3 separate regions of the Homo sapiens genome follow, and all the other regions are linked to region 3. Evidence: promoter capture Hi-C in 16 types of primary human blood cells and fetal thymus (Javierre and others, 2016). All regions are on one chromosome and are shown on one strand. The core of a region is centred on a gene start or on the middle of the fragment in contact, and the rest is flanking DNA. Distances in the headings are between cores, read along the strand shown. Region 1 has its middle 330 kb from the start of CDH9. Region 2 has its middle 350 kb from the start of CDH9. Region 3 holds the start of CDH10 (cadherin 10).

The links. The method cuts DNA at HindIII sites, captures the fragments that hold promoters and counts their contacts. A CHiCAGO score of 5 or more calls a contact.
Region 1: a fragment that was not itself captured here is called in contact with the fragment with the promoter of CDH10 in region 3 in 1 of 17 cell types (M2 macrophages); the score reaches 6.1 in M2 macrophages.
Region 2: a contact is called between a fragment that was not itself captured here and the fragment with the promoter of CDH10 in region 3, in 1 of 17 cell types (M2 macrophages). The highest score is 7.2, in M2 macrophages.

What each region holds. Positions count from the first base shown.
Region 1 is chr5:26,704,585-26,707,284 of GRCh38, forward strand. No RefSeq gene overlaps it. Among named protein-coding and RNA genes, the nearest start is that of CDH9, 330 kb to the right of the region's middle. The HindIII fragment of the contact is 1,970 bases long and covers 301-2,270 here.
Region 2 is chr5:26,684,607-26,687,350 of GRCh38, forward strand. No RefSeq gene overlaps it. Among named protein-coding and RNA genes, the nearest start is that of CDH9, 350 kb to the right of the region's middle. The HindIII fragment of the contact is 433 bases long and covers 1,254-1,686 here.
Region 3 is chr5:24,643,409-24,646,242 of GRCh38, forward strand. CDH10 (cadherin 10) reads right to left here and starts at 1,570. Exons shown (of 12, transcript NM_006727.5): 1 at 1,186-1,570. It overlaps LOC124901174 (a long non-coding RNA gene), which reads left to right and starts at 1,301. Exons shown (of 2, transcript XR_007059125.1): 1 at 1,301-1,664; 2 at 1,903-2,106. RefSeq lists an enhancer at 1,267-1,862. The HindIII fragment of the contact is 4,637 bases long and covers 201-2,834 here.

The DNA.
Region 1 (2,700 bases), core at 36-2,535, 2.1 Mb after region 3:
GCCAGGGTGGTCTTGATCTCCTGACCTCGTGATCCACCCACCTTGGCCTCCCAAAGTGCTGGGATCACAGGCGTGAACCACTGGGCCCGGCCAAGCGTTGTTATCATTGGTGATGACGGTGCCATACGTATTATTGCTCCTGAAGACCTTCCAGTGGGACAAGAGGGAGAGGGGGAAGGCAGCGATATTGATAGTTCTAATTCCATATAGGCTTAAGCTAATGTGTGTGTTTGTGTCTTAGCTTTTAACCAAAAAGTTTACAAAGTAAAAATCTCTTTAAAAAATTAAAAATAGACAAAAAGCTTATAGAATAAGGATATAAAAATGTTTTTGTACGGTTGTAAAACGTGTTTGTGTTTTAAACTGTGTTATTACAAGAATTAAAAGGTTAAAATAGGCTGAGCATGGTGGCACACGCCTGTAATCTCAGCACTTTGAGAGGCCGAGGCGGGCATATTACCTGAGGTCAGGAGTTCAAGACCAGCCTGGCCAACATGGCGAAACCTTGTCTCTACTAAGCATACAAACAATTAGCTGGGCATAGTGACAGGCTCCTGTAATCCCAGCTACCGAGGAGGCTGAAGCAGGAGAATCACTTGACCCCAGGAGGCAGAGGTCACGGTGACCCCAGATGCACCACTGCACTCCAGCCTGGGGGATAGAGTGAGACTCTGTCTCAAAAAAAAAAGAAGTTAAAATAAAATCGAAAAGTTTATAAAGTAAAATTTCACAGTAAGTAAAGGTTAATTTATTATTAAGAAAAATATATTTTTTCTAAAATTTACTGTAGCCTAAGTGTACTGTGTTTATAAAGTCTACAATAGTTACAATAATTTCCTAGGACTTCACATTCACCAACCTCTTACTGACACCCAGAGCAACTGCCTGTACTGCAAGCTCCATTAGTGGTAAGTTTCCTATATAAATGTACTATTTTTTATCTTTCATACCATATTTGACTGTACCTTTTCAATATTTAGATATGCTTGGATTCACACATGCTTACAATTGTTTCACAATTTATTAAAGTAACATGCTATACAGGTTTGTAGCTTAGAAGCAATAGTCCGTACCATATACCTTAGGTGTGTAGTGGACTATACCAGCTAGTCTATACCATCGTCATTCTGTGATGTTCGCACAATGACAAAATCACCTAACAATCCATTTCTTAGAATGTATCACTGCTGTTAAGATGTATGACTAGAGGGAGGGAGAGAGAGAGGGAGAGAGAATGCACACTTATAACGTATTATTAAACTTTTATAGAATAAATATTTCAATGTCGAAAGATTACAAAATAATTCTCATTATTTCAGAAATTTAATATGCAATGTATGCTTTTGATTTCTGTGGAAATAAAGGTTGAATATGTATCATTTAGATAAATAGCACCAAATTCCATTTGGCAATGTTGTAATAGACTGGCTAACCACAGTAAAAACAACAGGTTATACTATTCTGAAATCTTTGATACAGTAGGATGGTGATATTAAAAATAGTTACACTGTATTTTCTTTGTTCTTTACAATTCAGTATCAGAAAAACAAATTTAGTAAATAGTTCTGTTCATATAATGGACACAAATAAGTGGGGAAATAATACCAGTCTTTAGAGACTTTGGAAAAAAGGTAAAGAATGCAAAGGATGCCAAAGTTTCTTTTTCAGCATGAAGGTGAAATACATACAAATAATCAAAATATGAGTTAAATAATATCATAAATATTGCATTGAATATAATTAATTAATGAAATATTTCCAACAACTCAGGCATTTTTTTTCAAAATCAAGTACAAAATTATTTTCAAAGCCTTTTAAAATGTTGTCATAAAATTACTTCAATCATTTTAAAGTTTTTCTTTTTTATCCTGACACAAAAGCCATACAAGGACACTGTAAATAAAAAAATAAAATGATACCAATTTTCCTAATGACCATAGATGCAAAAATCCTCAACAAAATGGTAGCAAACTGAATTCAACAGCATATTTAAACGTTCATTCACCACTACAAAGTGGGATATATCCATGGGGTGCAAGGATATTTTTACATATACAAATCTATAAACATCATACATCAAATTAACAGAATGAAAAACAAAAAGCATATGGTCATCATTATCAATTCAGGAAAATTATTTGACAAAATCTAACATCCTTTCATGGTAAAACCTCTCAAACATTAGGCACAGAACGAATGTACCTCAACAAAACAAAGGCTATGCATAACAAGCCCACAGCTAATATCATACTCTTTGGTAAAAAGGTGAAAGCTTTATCTCTAAGATGAGAAATAAGGCAAGGATAACCTCTCTGAACACTTCTATTCAATACAGTACTAAATATCACAGGCACAAAAATTAGGCAAGAGAAATAAATAAAAGGCATTCAAATAGGAAAGGAAGAAGCAAAATTGTCCATGTTCTGACAACATGATCTTATATAGAGAACATTATAAACATCACATTAAAAAACTATTAGAACTGATACGCAAATTCAGCAAAGTTGCAGAATAAAAATATGCAAAATAAATAGTGTTTCTATATACTAACTTATGTGGTTTGGCTGTGTCCCCACCCAAATCTCATATTGAATTTAAACTCCCATATTTTCTACATTTTGTGAGAGGGACACACTGGGAGATAATTGAATCATGGGGACAGTTTTCCCCATATTATTCCCATGGTAGAGAATAAGTCTG
Region 2 (2,744 bases), core at 220-2,719, 2.0 Mb after region 3:
TGTTTATTTGACCTAGATTCCTAATGTCTGAAATTAGGAAAGTGACTTTCAGAAAGGTTTGGTGTCCTGCCTGTAGGTCTACATGAATACTTTTGCAAAGCTAGTAAAACCCAGGTCTCATACCATTAAATTTCAATAATGTTAATTAGTTTAAATATTTTAAATCATCTGTTCTAGGCAGAATTCTAAGATGATCCCCAGGATATATACTTGCCCCTGGAGTGTGGTAAGACCTACAAATACAATGAAATGACCTTCCAGTGATAAGGTTACTTTATGTGATAAAGTTGAAAGGATTTTGCAGATATAATGAAAATCCCAAATCAGTTCACTTATGTCAACTGATGCACAGGATAACAAGCAGGATATTATTCTGGAGTATAAAACCTTTTAAGGAGGGATAGGGTCTTCCTAAAGATAGGAAGATTCTCCTACTCATTTTGAAAACGTGAGCTGCCATGTTGCAAAGCTTCAGAGAACTTCAGACAAAGGGTGTCAGCCTCTAGAAGCTGAGCAGTCTCCAGCCAATAACCAGTAAGAAGCCAGGGCCCTCAGCACAGGGCTGCAAGCAAATGAAAGCTACTAACCACCTACATGATGCTGGAGGTAGAATATTCTCTGAACAAGCTTGCAGATAAGAATAGAGCACACTGAACAAACGCCTAGTGTGACCTTGAGCTGAGGACCCAGTTAGGTTATGCCCAACCACTCGGCCATGAGAACAGTTGATATAAATTTGCATTGTTTTAAGCTGTTACATTTTTTTAAAAGTTGTACATTTTTAAATGCTAACCAAGCTATGAAAAATAAATACTTGTTTTCTGAATTTTCAACTAAAAATTACACATAAATGATATATTGATTTTGCTTTTGAAAATCTTTTTGTTGATTTAACTTGCATTTCATGGCTTTAGTTCTGATGAGTTAGTGAGACTCAACTGAGACAGGGGATCTCTAGATCTCACATGTGAACACATTTAAATGATGATGAAAGGCTTCCTTTAGATACTGGCCTCAGCAACATTGGCAAGTGTAAAACGTAGCAGAAGAAATGAGATTTACAACTCAAACCAGAGACAAAAAAGTTATAAAACTTTGATTTAAAGTAGAAATACTTCAGACCATTATAGAAAAACGATCCAAATAAGAATCCATCCAGCACATTACTGACTATGAGGCCTTTACTTCCAGAGAAGTATTTTTAATGTGGATTTACCAACTGAACTGGGATTACTTACAAACAGCAGAAAATAAGCTTTATATCAGTATATTTCTTTGTAAAGTGGTCAAAAATATATTGTCCAAGTCAAGAAAAAAAAAATACTCAGTAAACTTTATCTACTTACCATGTTAGGAGTGATAATTTTTCTTAAAAATTCCCACTGTTTTATTTTGTGTACGTTTATGTGTATTTAGAAGTAAAACAAGCACAGAATAATAAAAGGGCCTTAACAGAAAATCTTGATTATTACACAGAGATGAGTTCACTGAGAATGGCTGACTACTGATGGTCCCAGTGTTGAAATCAACAATCAACATGGAATGCCCTTCAGTAGGGGCAAAATTTGAATTATGTTTTGAAGGTTTGATGAGTCTTATTGCCTAAAAAGAAAATGGTAGAAGAAAAGGGCAAAGAGAACAACATAAAGTTTAAGCTGGAAAATTCAGCTTGGAGCAGATTATGAAAGCTTTGCTAAAGATGTTTTGTTAATTTTAAGCAATTATATCATATGTTACATAAGATTACCTGATGACAAGGCTACTGAGATAACATCTGAGAGGAAGATGAGTTGATACATGTTGGGAGCAGTTATGTAGAGGAGAAATCTGATGAGGAGAAAAAAAATGGATTGAATTTCGGCCTTGGAGGGAAAACTAATCTGTGATCTATATTTCTGGTGGTTCTATGATCAGCCCATTTTTAAATAAGAAACCAGTCAAAAGCTAAAGGCAAAAATTTTGATTCTTAAATCCTAAAGAAAATCTGTCAAAAGTAGGAATGTTTTCAAGCTCCTAACACAATTTCCTTTATTTTCCAGTTGCCAGAAGAAAGCTTGGTTGAGTCATCAGGAAACTGAGACAAGAATATGGGTAAACAGAGATAAGTTTAGTAAAGCAAAATGGCTTTTACTGTATTTTTTATTTTTATTTTTTATTTTAAATGGAGTATTGCTCTGTTGCCCAGGCTAGAGTGCAGTGGTGTAATCTCGGTTCACTGCAGCCTCCACCTCCCAGGTTCAAATGATTCTCCTGTCTCAGCCTCCCAAGTAGCTGGGATTACAGGCATCTGCCATCACAACTGGCTAATTTTGTGTTTTTAGTAGGCGCAGGGTTTCACCATGTTGGCTAAGCTGGTCTTGAACTCCTGACCTCAGGTGATCCGCACTCCTCAGCCCCGCAAAGTGCTGGGATTACAGGCGTGAGCCATCGTGCCAGTCCCAAAATGACTTTTTATGGATTTGAGGGTATCTAGAAACACTTGATACCAGAATAGAAGAAACAAGATGTTACAATATTTGAATAGAAATATACCTAAAATTTTGGCAGTTCATACATGGAGCTCTGATTGCTTTCTACTCATGTTTACTGGAAATTTTTAATAATTGAGATGCTTAAAAACAAAACTTTGTTGTTTCTTAGTGAATTTAATGACTCTCATGTAATATCCTACAGTTTTGTAATAAATGAATATAGTTGACGAGTCAAGGACATCAATGCCGTATTAAGATGAAAAGGCAATGCTC
Region 3 (2,834 bases), core at 320-2,819:
ACGTTTTAAAGGAAGATAGAGAGGGGGATGGTATGGAGGGAGAAAGTCTACTAACATATGCATTGAAGTATAACAGTTGTCAACATCAGAAGGACAGATTATTTTTAATACAGATCCTTCAAGAAAAAAAAAAAGAGGAGAAAAAATAATGTATCTCCAAAGAGCTGAGAAGTAATGGATGTGCAGTTTTGGATAATAGAAGCTTTCACTGGAATGAAGGAATGAAGGACCACAATTATAGGAAACATCTGTTTTTTCAAAGCAAAAGATGATAGGTCATTTTTAAAACAATATTTGTCTTTGTACCTGTAGACTCCCCTTTTTTCATAATAAGGAGACAGTAGGTTTTTATTTTAGTGGCATAAAAACAATTTCAGACTACTGCTTTTGCCCATAGTTACAGTGCTATCAATAGTTACTTGTTGGGGACATGCATTTATACTTGCAATATGCTGCATTAATTTAACAACACATAAAATATGGATTTTATTGCAGCAGAAACAATAAATGCTGCAACTGCTGACTACATGCATTTACTCTCCCTCTCTTTACCTCTCTCCCCCCAATACTTCTGACTCAGATATAAAATTGAAAATAAGAATTCTGCCTATTCTATTTCTGATGAATGTCAATCTATTGTATTTATGTAGATGCTTAGTGACCATTGACAGTTTCAAGGAATCTGTCTTCTGCCTGTCATTTCTGTTTATATTGAACGTACAATGAACTATGACTACGAATAAGTGCAGAGTGAATCCATTCATATGGAATGCAAAGTAATGTTAGATGATGTTAGAGTTCACAGTAACAATGTTATCTCTTGAACTGATTTTTAAAATAAAAATGAACAAGTCTGGGCATGACAAATTCACTTCATAACATATTTTTTAGCATTTGTTCCAAGTGAATGAATTCACAAACTCTAATATCATGACCCACTGTTGAGCATAATATATAATTTATCCAGCTTTACATTGCCTATATAGATATTCGAAGCAGTTGTTTCTAGAATTAAATATATAGAGTTGTATGCTTATTTAAGTATTAAAGATAATTATTTTGAAATAATTGCTAAACACAACTTAAAAACAAACATTTATCTCCTCCCTCTCCCCCCCCACCCCTCAAGTGGAGGAATATATAATACCTTAACGGAGTTAAAAGAAAGAGGTGAAGTCTTCCTACCTTTTTTATCAGCTTCTGGATAATGGAAGTTGGTTCCAGCCAAAATAACCCAGGAGAAATTGTCACTATGTCCCCTTTTTGTTTGTTTTCGGCTGTTATTTTCTATCACTGATTCTACTTCAATCTAACTCAAGCTCTTTCTCAGCATCACTTTTAACTCTGGACAGCAGGGAACCGAAGAAAACGGGGGCGAGCTCTCTCTGATTGGCTTTCATTCAGTGCTTCTGATTAAGGGGAAAGGAAAAAAAAAAAAAAGGAAAGGGGGGAAAAAAGCTCTTCCTCACACGGAGAGAAAGGTTCTGCTGATAGAGCTGCAGCACTCGCCATGGGAAGGTTAGAGACTGTGGAAGTGCTGGCTTCTGCGAGCACACAGCGATTTGCAAGTGAATGCGAGGGGAGGGCGCATCCGAGAGGAGGGCTTTGCTTGAAAGGCGTCCCCTCCCCCGCAGGGCAGAAAGACTCTCTGTTTCAAGGCTAAGGTAATCAGCCCAATCTAATCCGCCTGTGTCCGTAATACAATCTCAGGAACAGGACTGCTTCTTGCAATTTTTTTTAAAAAAAGATAGTTCTTCTGGAATATATATTCCTGCACCGTCCTTACACCAGACTACCGAAATCCAAGTATTATCAGAGCGCCAAGTCAAATTGCAACCAGATTTGATATGTTACCAGAGTGATTTTTCGTTGTGATTTTAAATGTTTATTTTTTGCTTTCAGGGAACTTTCTCGGCTTGATTTTCCAAATCCCTTCTCTTGTTGCTTATTGTCACAGGAGTGCATACCTCGCTCATCATTTTGGAATGTCCGCGAGCCAGTCTTCTCTGCCTAATCTTTGCATTTTAATACTTTATAGATAAAATATTTTATTAAAAATGTAAATATGTAATTAGTGTTATTAAAATATTTAGACTTTGAACTTGACACAGTCTCCTTTTTTTTCTTTTTAACGTTGTTTTTTCTCATAAATACGGGTTTCATACCCAAATGAGTGTGTGGACAGATGTAAATACATTTGGATTGTTCTATCTACTTAAACATCTAACTGTCTCGCTATTTATCAATCTCCACATCAAATTGCAATCAACCAAACCTTACCAAAGGATGTCAGTATAGCTCCACAAAGTAATTAACATCTTTGCATTTTTCCGGCTACAGGTAGATTCCTTTTAAAGTGCCATCCATAAATAAATTATATACACATATACATACATATATGCATATAAATACATATATGTCAATTATAGTTTTAAAGCTAGAGGAGAAATTACGAAGATCATTTTGGGCTGTTATTATTATTATTTCTTTAGCAGATAAAAATGCTCAGAATGTTAAATTGTCACAGGACTAACTGGAGGCGGGGTCAAAGCTGTAATACCACACTCCTACTTCCAGTTTAGTATTGTTTCCGGTTGCCATACTGCCTCCTCTGTACCTGTTTGATCATTCTAACAGTCAACAGGCCCCTTACATAATCAGCACAATGAAAAAGGAAGAAACTCAATCTGAGGGGCAAAAAAGAAGTGAGAGGGAGATTCAAAATTAGATTCCAAAAAGGTTTTAATGTATCACAGTGTTATTATATGATGAATTTTACCAATTAGTTTTATATTTGAAAACACCAAACATTTCCACTGAGCTGAACAGCTAAA